5 separate regions of the Homo sapiens genome follow, and all the other regions are linked to region 5. The links are contacts of gene promoters, found by promoter capture Hi-C in blood cells and fetal thymus (Javierre and others, 2016). All regions are on one chromosome and are shown on one strand. Each heading gives the region's core, a stretch centred on a gene start or on the middle of the fragment in contact. The rest is flanking DNA. Distances are from core to core; before and after follow the strand shown.

Evidence for each region. Contacts are between HindIII fragments. The CHiCAGO score rates a contact against its expected background, and 5 or more counts as called.
Region 1: a contact is called between a fragment that was not itself captured here and the fragment with the promoter of RPUSD3 in region 5, in 1 of 17 cell types (activated CD4 T cells). The highest score is 5.0, in activated CD4 T cells.
Region 2: a fragment that was not itself captured here is called in contact with the fragment with the promoter of RPUSD3 in region 5 in 1 of 17 cell types (neutrophils); the score reaches 5.6 in neutrophils.
Region 3: a fragment that was not itself captured here is called in contact with the fragment with the promoter of RPUSD3 in region 5 in 8 of 17 cell types (activated CD4 T cells, megakaryocytes, erythroblasts and 5 more); the score reaches 10.3 in activated CD4 T cells.
Region 4: a contact is called between a fragment that was not itself captured here and the fragment with the promoter of RPUSD3 in region 5, in 2 of 17 cell types (activated CD4 T cells and total CD8 T cells). The highest score is 5.7, in activated CD4 T cells.

Annotation. Positions count from the first base shown.
Region 1 is chr3:10,084,238-10,088,432 of GRCh38, reverse strand. FANCD2 (FA complementation group D2) reads right to left here. Exons shown (of 44, transcript NM_001018115.3): 33 at 2,511-2,621; 34 at 1,169-1,299. It also overlaps a transcript of FANCD2OS not described here. Among named protein-coding and RNA genes, the nearest start is that of FANCD2OS, 22 kb to the left of the region's middle. The HindIII fragment of the contact is 7,979 bases long and covers 1-4,195 here.
Region 2 is chr3:9,660,772-9,664,647 of GRCh38, reverse strand. MTMR14 (myotubularin related protein 14) reads right to left here. Exons shown (of 19, transcript NM_001077525.3): 3 at 2,273-2,381. Among named protein-coding and RNA genes, the nearest start is that of MTMR14, 13 kb to the right of the region's middle. The HindIII fragment of the contact is 2,491 bases long and covers 1,297-3,787 here.
Region 3 is chr3:10,030,212-10,034,246 of GRCh38, reverse strand. FANCD2 (FA complementation group D2) reads right to left here. Exons shown (of 44, transcript NM_001018115.3): 3 at 1,275-1,415. Among named protein-coding and RNA genes, the nearest start is that of FANCD2, 5.8 kb to the right of the region's middle. The HindIII fragment of the contact is 752 bases long and covers 1,332-2,083 here.
Region 4 is chr3:9,989,771-9,993,650 of GRCh38, reverse strand. All of the region lies in intron 2 of EMC3-AS1 (EMC3 antisense RNA 1), which reads right to left. It also overlaps a transcript of EMC3 not described here and the pseudogene FANCD2P1. Among named protein-coding and RNA genes, the nearest start is that of EMC3-AS1, 4.8 kb to the right of the region's middle. The HindIII fragment of the contact is 3,447 bases long and covers 600-3,880 here.
Region 5 is chr3:9,841,694-9,845,684 of GRCh38, reverse strand. It overlaps RPUSD3 (RNA pseudouridine synthase D3), which reads left to right and starts at 1,677. Exons shown (of 9, transcript NM_173659.5): 1 at 1,677-1,795; 2 at 2,084-2,220; 3 at 3,442-3,486; 4 at 3,603-3,702. The coding sequence starts at 1,695. RefSeq lists an enhancer at 1,735-1,814. The HindIII fragment of the contact is 7,859 bases long and covers 1-3,567 here.

The DNA of each region.
Region 1 (4,195 bases), core at 1,188-3,687, 240 kb before region 5:
CAAAGGAATCTTACATATGGGAACTTGACCTCATTCTTGCTTTTCAGGTTTTTGAGGATGATTATTGATCAAAAGGATTATTAGTTTAGATTTACTAAGACGTTCCCGGTCTAACAGGCAACTTACAAAAAGCTGTCACGTTCCTGATCCACTGGCCCTTTTGCCAGACATAAACTCATTTGCCTAAGGCTCAACACGTCCCACCCCAACCCCATCTTGAAACACACAAACATGCAAACATGAACATAAATACAGACACACAGAGAAAAGGAATGCTGCTGGGCAGTGGGAAGGCCAATCTTGTTCCTCCTGGGCTGGCCAATAGCAGTGGTCACCTCCAAGATTGAGACCAAACCTTCCCCTTTTAATCAATAGGGATAAATAAAGGTTTGTTTTGCATTTTTATCTTGCTTTCTGATGTGCTGCCAACTAGGATGAGCTGCATTCTAAGAGCTACAATAAAAGACAGTTTAAGAAAGAGGCCAGGGCTGGGCACAGTGGCTCACGTCTGTAATCCCAGCACTTTGGGAGGCTGAGGCAGGTGGATCACGAGGTCAGGAGTTCGAGACCAGCCTGACCAACATGGTGAAACCCCGTCTCCACTAAAAATACAAAAATTGGCTGGGCACGGTGGTGCGCACCTGTAATCCCAGCTACTTGAAAGGCTGAGGCAGGAGAATCGTTTGAACCTGGGAGGTAGAGGATTGCAGTGAGCCAACATCGCACCACTGCACTCCAGCCTGGGTGACAGAACGAGACTCTGTCTCAAAAAAAAAGAAAAAGGCCAGGGAAGAGGCCAGTATTTCTTTTATACTTGACCCTGATTTCTCCTTTATTTCCTACTTTATTAACCTCATGATTTATGTCTCGTTTTGTCAAATGTCTCAGATAAATTTTTTTTTTTTGAAAAGGAAGAACATGATTAAACTTAAGCCAAAGAGAAAACTATCTACTCAGCTTGTCTAACCAAACTCAGACTAAGCAATTTTAGCAGAAATCAGTCAGGTTGTTCTGGGAAAATGACCTTCTTGGTATAGCAAGAGGGCCTATCCAAGGTTATGTGGGGATTTACATGTAAAAATGTCCTGGGAAGCCCAAAGTTTGTAAGTGTGAGATATTAGTCCTATTCATTAAAAAAAAAAAAAAAAAAAGGATCTAGGCCCATCACCAATTTTTTCTTTGTTCTGAGCAGAAGCTGTTGATTTCTCCAAAATAACCATCAAAAGTCTGATGAGATAAAGAGCACACTGGAAACTGGGAATGCTTTGATGGAAATTCTGCAAGTAATGGACGCTCTGGCTGTAAGGAGACAAGAAAAACAAACAAATGCAATAGTATCCTATGTGTCACAGATATATTTAAATCCACATGACGTGCCCAAGTCCCTTTCAGTGTTTGACGGCCTAATCAGAATCCTCCTTATTTTCAGGTGCTTTAGTAGCAACCCTCTTCAAGCATCTTGGTAGAAAACCATACCTTTGTATGGAAAAAGCCAGGGCAGAAGACAGCCCCACTGATGGAATGTTGGCCTTGAAGGGGTCATGTATGCTGAGAAACCCAAGCACCACGCTAATATGTACAACCCTAGATAAATTATCTGCTCTTTAAAGCCTTAGGCAATACACTGAAAATAATTTGTAAAATCTGGGTTCACAGGCCGGGCATGGTGACTTATGCCTGTAATCCTAGCACTTTGCTAGGCTGAGACAGGCAGATCACCTGAGCTCAGGAATTAGAGACCAGCCTGGCCACATGTCGAAAACATCTCTACAAAAATATAAAAATTAGTAGGGTGTGTCAGCATGCGCCTGTAATCCCAGCGTCTTGGGAGGCTGAGGCAGTACAATCACTTGAGCCCAGGAGGTGGAGGGTGCAGTGAGCTGGGATCACTCCAGCCTGGGTGACAAAGTGAGACTCTCTCTCAAAGAAAAAAAAAAGAAGATATAAGGTCCTGACCTATAGACAGGGATGATAAGCACTGACTGCTGACCCAGTGATGGTCTAGGTTACCAAGGGAAGTGAGAGAAAGACCAAGTCACTCTGACTGAAGGGGGAGGGGGCCGAAAGCCATGCCCCTGAGATCATGTCACCTCCCTTGTCCACTGCCTACCCCTCAGCCACATAAGGTCTTCCTACAAGACAAGGGGAAAGAAACAGGCTATCAGTGATAACTAGCTGCTGCCTAATTACCCAAATCTGCTGGGAGACAGTAGGTCCCTGGATAATCAAGAGTTGATTACAGATGGTCAATGTTTTCATCATTATTACTTGAAAAGGCTGAGTTTATGGGCTGATGCATTCATGAAGATTTAGCATGATTATTCAAGGTTTCTAATACTTCAGGATTTATCAGAATACATAGATGAGAAAGCTCATATATGAGGAGAGTAGCTGAAAATAATTTCCTTTACAACTACTGAAAGACACCCAGGTTATTTTAAAGAAAGTTGCCAATCCTGTTCCTAGGAGTTTCTTGGGACAACAATCTTGGCTATGTAGTTATGACTCACCTGAGTAGTTCCTCCAAAGGCTGGCTGTGTTCTCCCTGTTTCAGTCGGCTACTAAGGACATGGAGGGCTGAATACAGTAAATTCTGATTTTCAGGTTGAGAAAATCCACTCCTAAGGAAGTCAAGGTAAGAGGGGTTAGCTTAGTTTCTGGAAAACTACTTGGATAGTATTTAAGGATCCTGGCCTCCAGTCTGTACCATCAATAGTTTAACGGTTTGAAAAAAGAATTGAGAGGTCGGGCGTGGTGGCTCACACCTGTAATCCCAGCACTTCGGGAGGCTGAGGCGGGCGAATAACGAGGTCAACACATGGAGACCATCTTGGCCAACACGGTGAAATCCCGTCTCTACTAAAAATACAAAAATTAGCTGGGTGTGGTGGCGGGCACCTGTAGTCCCAGCTACTCCAGAGGCTGAGGCAGAAGAATCGCTAGAACTCGGGAGGTGGAGGCTGCAGTGAGCCGAGATTGTGCCACTGCACTCCAGCCTGGCGACAGAGCGAGACTCCATCTCAAAAAAAAAAAAAAAAGAAAGAAAAAAGAAAAAAGAATTGAAATGGAAAGTACTGAAGTACCAAATTCAATCACAGCTCTAAGTATCAGAGTAGAAACTGAAGTACATCCAAAGTAATCTTTCCTGAAGTCTTCATAGGTTTCTTTTCTTCTTTCCTCTTTCTTTTCACAGGGGTGAGCCACCACGCCTGGGCCATAGGTTTACTTTGAAGGGCAAAAAGCTCTCCTTCATTCCCTATATTTTAGAGATATGTAGTCTTCTTCAAAAATACAGGAATAATTTTGTCAAACTGCTAAATCAATGTCCAGCCCATAGTGGTACTTACCCCTTCTCCTACATTAATGAGTCAAGTCTTGACATTTCTATCTTTGGATTACCTTTCATATTGTCCCTTCCTTTCCAAGCCTAGACCATCATTTTGGCCAGGCCCCTATCAATACATGTGTAGATCATAGTGACACCTTTTGAGTGTTCTTTTTTGCATCCCTTTTCAATCTGTCCTGCACTCTGCTGCCAGAAGTGTTTTCTTAAACCACTGCTTTCATTGTATTATGGCTGTGATCATAAAACTCCAAAATGGCTTCCCTGGACAACATTTAAATTATTCTGCCTGACCTTTGAGGCCCAGCACAATCTGACGTCCTAGATCTTCTCCTCTAGAAGCATCTTCCTGATCACCAGTGATAGTCATTCTTCCTTTCAACAAATGTATTCTGAGGGCCTATTAGGTGTCAGGTTTTTGGTCTACCATAGCTTCAATGAGATATAGTTGATGTACAATACACTTCATGTACTTAAAATGTTGAATTTGGGCCAGGTATGGTGGCTCACGCCTCTAATGCCAGCACTTTGGGAGGCTGAGGCGGGTGGATCACTTGAGCCCAGAGGTTCAAGACCAGCCTGGGGGCAACATGGCGAAACCCCGTCTCTACCAAAGAAAAAAAAAAGGAAAAATCAGCTGGGCATGGTGGTACATGCCTGCAGTCCCAACTGCTTGGGAGGCTGAGGTGGGAGGATTTATAGCCTGGGAGTCAGAGGTTGCAGTGAGCTGTGATTGTGTTACTACACTCCAGCCTGGGCAACAGAGCAAGACCCTGTCTCAGGGAAGAAAAAAAAAAAAGCCAGGTGTAGTGGCTCACACCTGTAATCCCAGCACTTTGGGAGGCTGAGGTG
Region 2 (3,876 bases), core at 1,293-3,792, 180 kb after region 5:
TGCCTGGCTTATTTCACTTAACATAATGACCTCCAGTTCTATCCATGCTGATACAAATGACAGGATCTCATTATTTTTCATGGCTGAATGGTACTCCATTGCATACATGTACCATATTTTCTTTATCCATTCATCTGTTGATGGACATTTAGGTTGTGGAAGCAAGCATTTCTTAACACAGTGGAAGCAAGCATTTCTTAACACAACTCTCTCTCTTCCTCAACCTGGTAGAGGTTGGTGTCCCTAAAGTATTGTTGGTAATAATGCTGCCACCATCATACTAGTTCCTCAGTGCCTACCGTGAGCCACATGTCTGACCTAACACAGGCCTCTCTGCTACAGGACTTCTCAGAGCCTTAACTATATGAACATACATTTATCAATCTATTTGAAGAATCTAGTATGCAGTATTTCGAATTCTTATTTGACAGATAATGCTTTTCGCAAGCATGTCCTTAAACTGCTATTCTATGGAAACACTGGTTGGAGTATCTCCCGTGCAACCTCTAATGACAAGCGCTGTGCTGCACAGGGTGGTACTCTTTCAAATGAAGTTGCAGGCCAGGCGTGGTGGCTCACGCCTGTAGTCCCAGCACTTTGGGAGGCTGAGGCGGGCGGATTACCTGAGGTCAGCAGTTTGAGAGCAGCCTGGCCACCATGGCGAAACCCCGTCTCTACTAAAAATACAAAAATTAGCTGGGTGTGGTGACATGCTCCTGTAATCCCAGCTACTCGGGAGGCTGAGGCAGGAGAATTGCTTGAACCCGGGAGGTGGAGGTTGCAGTGAGCCAAGCTTGGGCCACTGCACTCCAGCCTGGCAACAGAAGAGACTCCAGGCCGTGCGCGGTGGCTCACGCCTGTAATCCCAACACTTTGGGAGGCCGAGGCAGGAGGATCACAAGGTCAGGAGATCGAGACAATCCTGGCTAACACGGTGAAGCCCCGTCTCTACTGAAAATGCAAAAAATTAGCCGGGCGTGGTGGCGGGTGCCTGTAGTCCCAGCTACTCGGGAGGCTAAGGCAGGAGAATGGCGTGAACCCGGGAGGCGGAGCTTGCAGTGAGCTGAGATCGCACCACTGCACTCCAGCCTGGGCAGCAGAGCAAGATGTCTGCTGCCTCAAAAAAAAAAAAAAAAAAAAAAAAAAGAGAGAGACTCCATCTCAAAAAAAAAAAAGTTGCAATAACTTTCGGGAACATGAAAACTTTCCAAAGTGGCAACAGCTTTAAGAAGATCAATTTCTAGGACCTAACTTCCATACATACTTTTCCCTAAAACTGATCTGAAGAAGAAAGCTTTTGGCAGAGTCTCCCTTCCTTCCTCCTCTTTCCCAATTTACAAAAAAGGCACACCAGGGACTGAGACAACAGTCAGACTCTCCCCATTGCCCTGCCCTTGACCACTGAGACACTCAGATACCAGCTAAAGGAATGAATAGACTGAATTCCGCTCCCTTCCCCTCTGAGGCTCTCTGTATGTCAGTCCACTCTTCTTGGACCAATTTTCGCACCGTTGCTACTTGCATTCGGAATTTCCCCGCTCAAACGTCACAATGGCTCTCCTAGCAAACACAGAGCCACCTCCCTGCTCAGCGTTCAGCCGTCTTCATTCAATCCCCTCCATCCTCTGCCCTGATGTGTACCCTCTACTTAGGGAAGTTACTTAGTCACTCTCAGCCTCTGTTTCATCTGCAATGAAATGGGCACATCCCGTACACCAAAAGATAGATAAAAATGAAACCAAACTGGGGAGCCAAATTAAATTAACAAAAGTCCTTAGAATATAAGCTCCATGACAATAAAGATTTTTGTCTGCTTTACATGGTGATGTATTTTAAGGCCTGAAGCAGTGTCTGGCACATAATATACAATAAATACTTGGTGAATTATATAATTGAAAGAATGGAAAAACAATATAGGAACTCATTTGATTTAATCTAATCCACAAACCTTTGAAATAGGTGATTATTATTCTTAATTTATAGGAGAGGAAAAGGAGGCTCTGCATAGGCAGGAAATAAGAGTCAGGATCTGAACCTAGGCAGTCTGGCTCTGGAACACGGGGTGGGGTATGCTGGTGTGACCATCCCTTCTCTACCTAGAACCATCCTTCAGTCAGAATTGGTCTGTTTCTCTGGACTGCTTCCCACAACACCCAGTAACCACCCAATGCTTGGCTACTAATGTTGAGGGAAAAAAAGACCCTATACTTTGCAGTAAGTCAGCTACCCCAGAAGAGAGTCGTGGAGCATGAAGCTATGGTATGGGCCTTACCTTGCCCTTGAACAGGATTACTGGGCAGACAAACCGTCCTCTGCACCGGGCCATCTTGCTGCGGTGGATGAGGTCTTGCAACTTGCTCACCTGTACGGTACTCTCAAACCTAACACACAGGCAAGAGAAGCAGGTCAAGCTGACTTTGAAGTGGGCACTTTGTGTATATGTGTTTATTCACACAGACCCCCATACTAGATCTGTGTACATAATGCTTGCTTGAAATTAAATGTCATTCCTAAATTTTATATCATCTATCATCTGTCTGTCTATCTATCTATTTTTTTGAGACGGAGTTTCACTGTTGTTGCCCAGGCTAGAGTGCAGTGGCGCAATCTTGGCTCACCACAGCCTCTGCCTCCCGGGTTCAAGCAATTCTCCTGTCTCAGCCTCCCGAGTATGCTGTGACTACAGGTGTGAGCCACCACACCTGGGTAATTTTTTTATTTTTGGTAGAGACGGGGTTTCACCACGTTGGCCAGGCTGGCCTCAAACTCCTGACCTCAGGCGATCCGCCCACCTCGGCCTCCCAAAGTGCCGGGATCACAGGCATGAGATATATTAAGTTTTTCAGGAAAAAAAAAAAGTGCTAATTATAGGTATTAAAACTTAAATCACTCTGATTTCTGAACCTTTAAGATAAAAAAAAAGTGAGCTAAACTGAAGACATATACAAAATTCAGAAATATACACAGAAAACTGGATATTATGTCTAGGGTGTCCAATTTTTAACTCCCAGGATAAGACCTGGTGCCCTAGGGACCCTCTCTGGAAATCACAGGACCATTTTTGTGACTATCTATTTTTTGCATAACTCTGAATATGTATTTTTGTGATCTTTTAGAGCAAGCAGTCCCCAGGCCCTGAGCCCCAGATCAGTACGAGTCCATGCCCCATTAGGAACCAGGAGGTGAGCAGCAGGCAAGTGAGCATTACCGTCTGACTTCCACCTCCTGTCAGATCATCAGTGGCGGCATTATATTCTCATAGGAGCTCGAACCCTATTGTGAACTCCGCATGTGAGGGACTGGGGTTGCAGAGAATCTAATGCCTCATGATCTGAGGTGGAACAGTTTCATCTGAAACCATTTTCTCCACCCTGCCGTGGAAAAATTGTTTTCCATGAAACCAGTCCCTGGTGCCAAAAAGGTTGGGGAGTGCTGTTTTAGAGGGCAGAATGAGATGACGTTTCTTGGTCCACATGGCTCTAGGCCTCTGCTTTCACAGTCCATATGGCCAACAGCGCACAGAGCAAAGGAGGCATAAGAGAAGCCATGTGTGACACAGGGACGTGTAGTAGTTAATGCACTGGGCTTGGTAAGTGAGCTTCTAGAACTTGAGAGTGAGGTTTAGAAGTTAGCTCCAGCAAGTCATACCCATATCAAATCACGCTTCCCTAAAATAAGGGTCCGCTCTCATAAACTCACCTACCAACCTTTAGCAAAGCTCACCCCAGCCAGTCAGAGCTTCTGGTAGCAACAGAAACAGGAGGCAGGAAAGTTAGAGCAGGAAGCTTTCCCAGCTACACAGAGTAACCAAGTAGAAGGAAGGAAAAATACTCATGTTCCTTCCTTAAAAGTGTTGAGCTTTCAGACCAACTCCTA
Region 3 (4,035 bases), core at 458-2,957, 190 kb before region 5:
TTCAAATGATTCTCCTGCCTCAGCCCCCCCAAGTAGCTGGGACTACAGACACGTTTTTTTTTGTTTTGTTTCGTTTTTTGTATTTTTAGTAGAGACAGGGTTTCACTGTGTTAGCCAGGATGGTCTCGATTTCCTGACCTCGTGATCCACCCTCCTCAGCCTCCCAAGTGCTGGGATTACAGGCATAAGCCACTGTGCCCAGCCCAGAGTCATGGGGTTGTGTCTAAACCCACATAAAAGACTTAGCTTTGGCTGGGCGCGGTGGCTCATGCCTGTAATCCCAGCACTTTGGGAGGCCGAGGCAGGTGGATCACAAGGTCAGGAGATCAAGACCATCCTGGCTAACACGGTGAAACTCCGTCTCTACTAAAAATACAAAAAATTAGTCAGGCATGGTGGCGGGCGCCTGTAGTCCCAGCTACTTGGGAAGCTGAGGCAGAATGGTGTGAACCTGGGAGGTGGAGCTTGCAGTGAGCAGAGATCGCGCCACTGCACTCCAGCCTGGGCGACAGAGCAAGACTCCGTCTCAAAAAAAAAAAAAAAAAAAAGACTTAGCTTTGATAGCAGATAGCCACTAAGTGTTCTAAAAAAGACCTGCCATAACCTTAGCAAGATAGAATAATCTGCTCCCCCAAAACAGAATCTTATATGGCTTTATAAATTTTCTTCTGAAATTATTCTGACACTGATACAGCTGCTTTCTGGATATTTATTTTTTCATAAGAAAACACAAAATAAATAATATATAATATTTTTTCTAATAAAAGGATGAGAAATGCTTTACTTAAGACATAGTAATGAGGACCAAAGACTGTACCATTTTCTTTTTCCATTTTTGTTTTTTGGAAATGGAGTCTCACTCTTGTCGCCCAGGCTGGAGTGCAGTGGTGCGATCTTGACTCACTGCAACTTTCACCTCCCGGGTTCAAGCAATTCTCCTGACTCAGGCGCCCAAGCAGCTGGGACTACAGGCACATGCCACCATGCCCGGCTAATTTTTTATATTTTAGTAGAGACGTGTTGCCCAGGCCGGTCGCAAATTCCTGAGCTCAGGCAATCCGCCTGCCTCGAGCCTCCCAAAGTGCTGGGATGATAAACGTGAGCCACCGCGCCCGGCCTGACTGTACCATTTTCTAAAAAGCAATTTCAACTTTGTCTCAAGATGGATGGCCCTCTGATTTCTAATCTTCATTGCCTCTCTATTTAGAAAACCCATGATTCAGTCCTGAACTATTTCATTAAACCCAGAGAATAAAATTAGATTAAAATATTACCTAGTTGATTCTGACTCTCTCCCGTTTTAAGAATAATTCCTGATATCTTAAGAAGCTTTACAAAGATGCTGTCATTTTCTTCAACTTCATTAGCAATATGAGATTTCTTTGTCTTTTTGGAAAGTGGTTGCTTCCTGGTTTCTGAAAATAGAAAAATTTTCAAGAATATGGCAAATAGTAAAGGAAAAATTAAAACTTAAACCCAGGAATAATAATCATGAGAGGAAAACTGATGTGTCCTTAAAAATTATACTAGGATTGATGCTGTAGTGAAATAAACTGTCTTCAGCAATAGTGGCTTCCAAAACAAACAAATAGAATTATTTTCACCTATTTTCATTTGAAGAATTCAAAATGTGCCATTTCTGGCCAGGCAAGGTGGCTCATGTGGTAATCCCAGCAAATTAGGAGGCCAAGGCAGGAGGATCACTTGAAGCCAGGAGTTCAAGACCAGCCTGGGCAACAAAGTGAGACCACCCCCCCATCTCCCCCCCTTCACCCCCATTCCCCCCCTCCACACACAAACTAGTTAGGTGAGGAGACGCACACCTGTAGTCCCAGCTACTTCGGAGGCTAAGGCGGAAGAATAACTTGAGCCCAGGAGGTTGAGGCTATAGTGAGCTATGATATTACCACTGCACTCCAGCCTGGGTGACAGAGTGAAATCCCCATCTCTAAAAAAATAAATTCAAACAAATAAGTGCCTAACAAGAATAACCCACAGAAATGTTTTCCACCCAAATACTAAACTAGCCAGTGTCTCTCAAGCTGTTGCCTGCAAACCACTGTACTGGAATCCCTGGGAAGCTTATTAAAATGCATATTTCCGACCCAGCACAGTGGCTCACGCCTGTAATCCCAGCACTTTGGGAGGCCGAGGCAGGCTGATTACCTGAGGTCAGGAGTTCAAGACCAGCCTGGCTAACGTGGTGAAACCCCATCTCTACTAAAAATACAAAATTAACTGGGTGTGGTGGCGTGCGCCTGTAATACCAACTACTCGGGAGGCTGAGGAGGAGAATCACTTGAACCCGGGAGGCAGAGGTTGCAGTGAGCCCAGATCGCGCCACTTCACTCCTGCCTGAGCAACAGAGTGACACTCTGTCTCAAAGGAAAAAAAAGGCATATTCCATGCCATATACCAGAGTTACTGAGTCAAAATCTTGGGAATGGGACCTAGGAATCCGAATTTTTTATGTTCTTCAGATAATAATCCTGATACACACCAAATTTGAGACTCAATGATCTGAATAAAGGGTAGACAGAATGGGGAAGGTTCTTTGTATCATATCTTTGACTACAATGCTCAGATAGGTTTAATCCCAAGACTTTCAACCCATAAAAAGAAATAAGAAACAAGAAACAAACAGGTACTTGAAGCCAAGTTTAAAATTTACTCTTCTCCCTTAATGATGCCATTTTGTTTTTTCCTTCTTCAATTCCTCTCCCTCTTTCTTTTTTTTTTTTTTTTGAAATGGAGTCTTGCTCTGTCGCCCAGGCTGGAGTGCAGTGGCGCGATCTTGGCTCACTGCAAGCTCCGCCTCCCGGGTTCATGCCATTCTCCTGCCTCAGCCTCCCAGTAGCTGGGACTACAGGTGCACACCACCACGCCCGGCTAATTTTTTGTATTTTTAGTAGAGACGGGGTTTCACCATGTTAGCCAAGATGGTCTCAATCTCCTGACCTCGTGATCTGCCCGCCTTGGCCACCCAAAGTGCTGGGATTACAGGCGTGAGCCACCGTGCCTGGCCTCCTTTCCCTCTTTCTAATAAAGCCTTAATCAGAATGAGACAAAGACCACTACCTTCCTGAATGAAATGTAAAACACAACCAGAATGAAAGTTTCAGTTTGTTCATTACTGACCAAGAGAACCCAAATCCCTTCTAATAAACTTAATTCAGAAGTCTCTTCTCTTTTGGAGAACAGTATTTCCAAAGTATAACATTTACTTTCAGTAATTTCCTATATTATTCCTCTTCAGTTTCAAATTTTCTACCAATTTCTCTATATTCTAATTCTAGAACCCCATTACTAATCAACCATTGGAGCTTCACAACTTCCTTTTTTTTTTGAGATAAGAGTCTTGCTCTGTTGCCCCGGCTGAAGGGCAGTGGCGTGATCTCAGCTCACTGCAACCTCCACCTCCGGGGTTCAAGCAATTCCCCTGCCTCAGCCTCCCGAGTAGCTGAGATTACAGACACGTGACACCACGCCCAGCTAATTTTTGTATTTTTAGTAGAGATGGGGTTTCACTATGTTGGCCAGGCTGATCTTGAACTCCTGACCTCAGGTGATCTGCCCGCCTTGGCCTCCCAAAGTGCTGGGATTACAGGTGTGAGCCACTGTGCCCGGCCCACAGTTTCCGTTTCTAAATCAAGCCTATTCCTTACATGGTTTTGGACTCACAATTTTTATCATTATAATCACTGTTCAGCAAGCATTTTCATCTATTTCGGTTGAATTGACCAAGAATCAGACTTAACTTCCAATAACCTAGTAAGAAATAACTCTTCAATCCACAAGTCAGTAGAAGCTAAGCTATGAGAATGCAAAGGCATTAAGAATGACATAATGAGGCCAGGCATGGTGGCTCACGTCCGATATCCCAGCACTTTGGGAGGCTGAGGTGGGTGGATTACCGGAGGTCAGGAGTTTGAGACCAGCCTGACTAACACGGTGAAACCCCTTCTCTACTAAAAATACAAAAATTAGCCAGGCATGATGGCATGTACATGTAATCCCAGCTACTTGGGCGGCTGA
Region 4 (3,880 bases), core at 1,074-3,573, 150 kb before region 5:
GGGTATAATGCTTTATTGGGGAAAATGCAATGAAAAATTACATATGGTTTCCGTGTCTAGAAAATTACAGCCCAAAACACATATAACTGGCAGAAATAAACACAGAAAAGAACTGCTAGATGAAATAAGACAAACATTAAATCTATTCCTAAATATAAAATGTAAGATCCAATGAGGTATTCTCATTAGCTCCTAACCCAAACCCCAAACTACTGGCCCATCCAGTTTTCTAAGTTCTATACTGTTAATATACTGAACGTTCAGCCAGCAAAACATTATTCCCAGTTTATAAATTCCAGTTTGAATAATTTACATTTCCAGAGGAATTATCACCTAAAATCCAGTTTTGAATGGCCAAAGAGTGATAGTTCAAATAGGTCCATATTTACGTTTCTACTAGTTTCTACAGCCTGGTCCTATTCCCCTCAAGGTTTTTATAAGCTACTTAGAATAGGATACGAAAGGCTAGTTTGTCATAATTGCAAACTGCATTGAGATAGACAATTAAAATGTTAATGCAAAAATAAAATTCAAAAATTTCAATGGGTTTGAACAATGGACTGAAATAAGATGAAATTTTACATGAGAGCTGTAAAGCTTTCTGTTTTAGATTAAAAATCAATAGTCTCTGACACTTACTAAGTAATGAACAGAGAATGTACTCTGGAGCAGCTGTTCTTGAATGCAGCCTGATCGAATCTTATTTCTTAGCACCCTTTCAATGTACTTCTTTGTCTGAGTATTGGTGCTATAGATGATGAAAAGCATCACCAGGTCAATAAATATGCAATAATAGAAAAACAGTTAACCAATCAGTACATTTGCTACAATGAAACAGCAGCTTTTCCTCTAATTAAAACACACAATGGATGATGCTCATTTGTTCCACACACTCCCCTGGTAGTATCTACACTTTTCACAAAACCCAGAAATATTTTTTAAAGAAATAAAGTGCCACAACTATTAACCACTGGTATCTCTTAGGAATACATTCCAATATACATTAAAGTGATACTACTACAGAAGTAACTTTGAACATCTTCACATTTATTAAAAGATTCAATCACTTGCCAACTCCAGTATGTATTTTCACTATTACTAGAAAAATTACTTTGTGAAAAGTTGGAAAGACTATAAATGCCCATCAATCTGGAAAGGGTTCAGTAAATTATGATGGAGTAATTTTAATTTTTGAAATATTATAGTCATCAAAAAGGATAAGCCAGGCTGGGCGTGGGGGCTCACACCTGTAATCCCAGTACTTTGGGAGGCTGAGGTACACATATCACCTGAGGTTAGGAGTTCGAGACCAGCCTGGCCAACACGGTGAAACCCCATTTCTACTAAAAAATACAAAAAAAAATTGGCCAGTCGTGGTGGCAACTGCCTGCAATCCCAGCTACTCAGGAGGCTGAGGCAGGTCAACGACTCGAACCCGGGAGGTGCAGGTTGCAATGAGCCGAGATTGTGCCACTGCACTCCAGCCTGGGTGACACAGCGAGACTCTGTCTAAAAAAGACTTTTTAATTACAAAATTTAAAAAAAAAAGAAAAAGGTAGATCAGGGGTCCCCAACTCCTGGATCACGGAGTCTGTGGTCTGCTAGGAACCAAGCTGCACAGCAGGAGGTGAGGGGTGGTCAAGTGGTCATTACCACTGAGATCCGCCTCCTGTCAGATTAGCGGCTGCATTAGATTCTCACGGGAGCGCAAACCCCATTGTGAACTGCACATGCGCAGGATCTAGGCTGCACATTCCTTATGAGAATCTAAGTAGTGCCTGATGATCTAAAGTTGAACAGTTTCATCCTGAAATCATGCCCCGAAACGGTCTGTGGAAAAACTGTCTTCCATGAAACCAGTCCCTGGTGCCAAAAAGGTTAGGGACTGCTGAGCCATACTCTATTTTTTGACAGAGGAAAGACATTCCTGATATGAAGTGGAAAAAACAGCAGCCTGCAAAAGGATAATCAGGCTGGGCATGAAGGCTCATGCCTATAATCCCACTGCTTTGGGAGGCTGAGGAGGGAGGATCATTGAGCCCAGGAGGTGGAGGCAACAGTGAGCTACGATTGTGCCACTGCACTCCAGCCTGGCGACAGAGTGAGACCCTGTCTCTTTAAACACCACCACCACCACCCATAATCATAGTTAAGATTCTGCTTTTGTAAAAACAATATATAAACATATATATGTGTAGGCATAAGAGTATACCTGTACTTGCACACAATTACAGCTTGTATATGAAGAGAAAAAATTTGGAAGGATGATTACCCCTGAGGAATGGGAAAGAGAGCAGAGAAAAACTGTATTTTTTACATCTGTAGATTCCTTGTGGATTTTTCTCCACAATTAGCTTGTTTACCTAAGTTTAAAAAAGAAAAATATGAGGGCTGGGTGCAGTGGCTCATGCCTATAATCCCAGCACTTTGGGAGGCCCAAGCAGGAGGATCACTTGAAGCTAAAAATTTGAGACCAGCCTGGGAAACACAGCAAGACCTCATCTCTATAAAAAATAAAAGAATGGCCGGGCGCGGTGGCTCACACCTGTAATCCCAGCACTTTGGGAGGCCAAGGCGGGCAGATCACGAGGTCAGGAGATCGAGACCATCCTGGCTAACATGGTGAAACCCCGTCTCTACTAAAAATACAAAAAATTAGCCAGGCGAGGTGGTGGGCGCCTATAGTCCCAACTACTCAGGAGGCCGAGGCAGGAGAATGGCGTGAACCCGGGAGGCGGAGCTTGCAGTGAGCCGAGATCGTGCCACTGCACTACAGCCTGGGCGACAGCGAGACTCCGTCTCAAAAAATAAATAAATAAATAAATAAATAAAAGAATTGGCCAGGCGTGGTGGCTCACACCTGTAATCCTAGCACTTTGGGAGGCTGAGGCAGGTGGGTGGATCACCTGAGTCAGGAGTTTGAGACTAGCCTGGCCAATATGGTGAAATCCCATCTCTGCTAAAAATACAAAAATTAGCCAGGCATGGTGGCAGGCACCTATAATCCCAGCTACTAGGGAGGCTGAGGCAGGAGATTTGCTTCAACCCAGGGGCCAGAGGTTGCAGTGAACCGAGATTGTGGCACTTCACTATAGCCTAGGCAAAAGAGCGAAACTCTCTCAAAATAACTAACTAACTAACTAACAGAATTAGCCAGGCCTGGTGGTGCTTGCCTGTAGTCCCAGCTACTCCAAAGACTGAGGTGGGGGGATCGCTTGAACCCGGGTGTTTGAGACTGCAATGAACTATGATGCTGTCACCGCACTCCACCTTCGGTGACAGAGCAAGACTTAGTCTCTTAAAAAAAAAAAAAAAAAAAAAAAAAGAGAAAGGCCCGGCACGGTGGCTCACACCTGTAATCCCAGGACTTTGGGAGGCTGAGGTGGATCATAAGGTCAGGAGATCCAGACCATCCTGGCTAACAACGTGAAACCCCATCTCTACTAAAAATACAAAAAATTAGCCGGGCGTGGTGGCAGGCGCCTGTAGTCCCAGCTACTCGGGAGGCTGAGGTAGAAGAATGGCATGAACCCAGGAGGTGGAGCTTGCAGTGAGCTGAGATTGCGCCACTGCCTGCACTCCAGCCTGGGTGACAGAGCAAGACTCTGTCTCAAAAAAAAAAGAGAAAACACTGGGAGTGTATTCAGGGCAATCTGAGTCTATGCTTCCAGGAAAAAAAAAAAAAAAAAGTTAAAAAGGCAAGCAGGACAAAAAAGAAAAAACAAATTTTACTACTTCTCTTAACTGAATGCTCCACTTCTTAGGACACCAAAATTTAGAGTCATTAGACCAGAATACAGTCATTAAAGATAACAATGAAGACAAAGCAGAAGCACATGGAGAAGAAAATGTTGAGAAAAAAGAATACAAATTATATTTA
Region 5 (3,991 bases), core at 428-2,927:
TTTATTTTCTTATCTTGAGCCCAGGAGTTTGAGACCAGCCTGGGCAACATCGTGAGACCCCATATCTTTAAAAAAAAAAAAAAAAAAAAAAAAAGCTAGGTATGGTGGTGCACACCTGTAGTCCCAGCTATTCAGGAGACTGAAGTGGGAGGATCGTTTGAGCCTGGGAGGTTGAGGCTGCAGTGAGCTGTGATTGTGCCACTGCACTCCAGCCTGGATGACAGAGCAAGCAAAAAAACACATTAGTGGCCGGGCACAGTGGCTCACGTCTGTAATCCTAGCACTTTGGGAGGCCAAGGCGGGCGGATTGCCTGAGCTCAGGAGTTCGAGACCAGCCTGGGCGACATGGTGAAACCCCGTCACTAAAATACAAAAAATTAGCCGGGTGTGGTGGCGGGCACCGCACCTGTAATTCCAGCTACTCAGGAGGCAAAGGCAGGGGAATCGCTTGAACCCGGGAGGTGGAAGTTGCAGTGAGTCGAGATCGGGCCACTGCACTCTAGCCTGGGTGACAGAGCGAGACTCTGTCTCCAAAAAACAAAAACCAAAACACATTAGGAAAATGTTCACACCAAACTCAAAGTGGAGACTGGGGAGGGAGTGAAAACTGGAAGCACGCAGTAAAGGGGAATTTACTTTTATCCCTTTCATTTCTTAAACAAGAAAAACAGGAAACCTATACATATATATATTGTTTCACAATGACTAATTCTGATGGTAGGAATGTGGGCAGTCATTATATTATTCTTTTTTTTCTGTGTTCTTCTACTTTCTTTTTCTTTTTTCTTTTTTTTTTTTTTTTGAGACGGAGTCTCGCTCGTCGCCCAGGCTGGAGTGCAGTGGCACGATCTCGGCTCACTGCAAACTCCGCCTCCCGGGTTCACGCCATTCTCCTGCCTCAGCCTCCCGAGTAGCTGGGACTACAGGCGCCCGCCACCACGCCCGGCTAATTTTTTTGTATTTTTGGTGGAGACGTGGTTTCACCGTGTTAGCCAGGATGGTCTCGATCTCCTGACTTCGAGGGGCCACAGGACTAGTAGAGCCAAGAGTTGAGGGTCCGGGTGGGGTGATCCGGCCGTCAGAAATGCAAAAGCCTGGAAAGACATCTCCAAAGGCCAATCTCAGGTTGGACAATCGTGAGCTGGGGAAGCTGCAAACACTGTGACCTCCGGAATAACCGCTGGTAATCAGTTACCTCTAACCCTTAGCAGAATTCAGGTCCCTCTACTACTCCTAACCTGGTGGCCTTTCATTAACTCTATGAAGCCAGTTTAGTTCGGGGGAAGGGCAATTATCATTTAGACTACGAACTAATTTCTCCCAAAGTTAGCTTGGCCCAAGCCCAGGAATGACCAAGGACCGTTTAGAGGTTAAAGGCAAGCTGCGGGTTGGTTAGATCAGATCTCTTTCGCTGTCATAATTTTGTAATATAATTTTTGCAAAGGCGGCTTCAGGTTTTTTGCTAAGACAGGTTTTTTGATCAGATCAAATTCTTCTGCTACAGCGCTCTCCCTAAAAGCATAGGAAGGCATTTCTGCATTTCCTTCCTGGGCGGAGGAAAAGCCCCGCCTCCTCAGGCTCTGAGTCCCGCCCGGTCACCATTCCGATTGACACTCCAGCTGACCAATCAGCGCGCTGGCTGGAGCGCGGGTCTGCCCCTCTGGACGCACATGCGCGCTGTCCTGGCTCGGGAGATGGACGGCCGCCGTGTTTTGGGCCGGTTCTGGAGTGGCTGGCGGCGGGGCCTGGGTGTCCGCCCAGTGCCCGAGGACGCAGGCTTTGGCACCGAAGCCCGGTGATTAAGTACCCCCTCTCTCATGCGGGACGGAGGCTAGGGCAGGGGGAAGGCACGTGCGGGATCTGGATCAGGTAGATGTTACCCGAAAACAGCCCCGTTGGCCTCTCTGAGCCTCGGTGCCCTCCGCTGTAGAATGGGACCGGTCGTACCTGAATTTTCGAGGTCAGCCCAGACATTGTGAGGCATTTGTCAGAGGCCGCAGGATTTGGGAAGAGGCGTCCGGAGATAGGAATGGGTGGCACCTCGGGATGGAATGACTCCCATTGCTTCTCCCTCCTTGTCCAGGCATCAGAGGCAACCCCGCGGCTCCTGCCAACGGTCGGGGCCCCTCGGGGACCAGCCCTTCGCGGGGCTGCTGCCAAAAAACCTCAGTCGGGAGGAGCTGGTTGATGCGCTGCGGGCAGCCGTGGTGGACCGGAAAGGTGAGGGGTGAGAGGCACGGCCGCACAAGGACCGGGAGGGGACTGCCTCGGCGTGCAGTTGGGCTCTCCATTGAAGCCACGGGATCAGCCCTGCTTCTGCCTCCCACTAGCAGCATGAGCTGGGACAAGCCACCTAATTTGCACCCTCTCCCCGCTTTTAACCCTACTGCCATGATGCAGTAGGGTTAAGAGTGGGGAGAAGATGCAAATAACTACCGAGCCTTGCACATAGCCGGCGCTCAGTTACGGGAGTTGCTATACTAGATTATTGTTTATTGGCCGCGGTGGCTCACGCCTGTAATCCCGGCACTTTAGGGTGCTGACGCGGGCGGATCACCTGAGGTCAGGAGTTCGAGACTAGCCTGGCCAACATGGTGAAACCCCGTCTCTACTAAAAACACAAAAATTAGCCAGGTGTGGCGGCGTCCGCCTGTAATCCCAGCTACTCGGGAGGCTGAGGCAGGAGAGTCACTTGAACCCGGATAGCAGAGGTTGCAGTGAGCCGACATCGTGCTACTGCGCTCCAGCCTGGGATGACAGAGCAAGACTCAGTCTAAATAAATAAATAAATAAATAATGATTATTTATCGACGGACAAAACACAGGCTTTGGAGTCAGACATACCTAGGCTCTGTGATCAGCTTGCTGTGCGGCTTTAGGAAAATAACTGAATTTCTCTGAACCCCACTCTCTATTCAGTGATTTATTCCTTTTCTCAACTATTTCTTGAACATATGCTATGTTCCAGGCACTGTTCTAGGCAGGCTATACAGTGCTGAAAAAGATAGATATGGTTTCTGCTCTCAGGGGAGAAATGGATTTCTCTCTAACGGGAGAAATGGATGTCAGAAAATAAATGAACAAGTTACTAGTGGTAAGTGCTATGCATAAACTAAAACAGGGTGTTATGATGGTGAGGAACTGCAGGAGGAAGGCAGACATTAGATTGGAGATTCAGACCTCTCCGTGATGTGACATTTGAGCCAAGATGATAGGGAGCCAGACCTGGGAAATTTGGGGACAGGAAACAGCAAGTGCCGAGGCTCTGAGGTGGCAGAGGAACAGAAAGAAGTTGAATTTGGTGTGGGGTAGTTAACTCATGTCTGAGAGTCATGATGGGGACATGTGCTAAGATGCGTGAGAAAGTGCTCTGGAAACTCTTTAGTGCTGCATAAAGGGTTACCGTTGCTTTTGCTGATGTTCGTGTGATGTATGTTTCAGGACCTCTAGTGACGTTGAACAAGCCACAGGGTCTACCAGTGACAGGTATGGGCCGGGGATGTGGGAAGGGAATGCAGCGGAAGGGGGTTTCGTGACTGAGGGAGGGAAAAGTGAAGGCATGAAGCTTTGGCCTCTTGTAATTTTTCTTTCTTACTTTCCAGGAAAACCAGGAGAGCTGACGTTGTTCTCAGTGCTGCCAGAGCTGAGCCAGTCCCTAGGGCTCAGGGAGCAGGAGCTTCAGGTTGTCCGAGCATCTGGGAAGTAAGTGGTAGGGGTGACAGGAAGCTAGGAGTACAGGCATCCATCTGTGGTGGGGAAACAGCTGCTTGGGGATAAGCTGAGACATTTTCCATGGGAAGGTTTGAGATCATAGAGGTGGATACAAGTACTGTGAAGAAGAGGAAGCCGATGGCTCTGGGTTCAAATCCTCAAGTACAAATGGTGTGATACCAGGCAAAGCATGACACCTCCCTGACGCTGGGCACAGTGACTCACACCTGTAATCCCAACACTTCTGGAGGCCAAGGCAAGAGGATCACTTGAGCCCAGG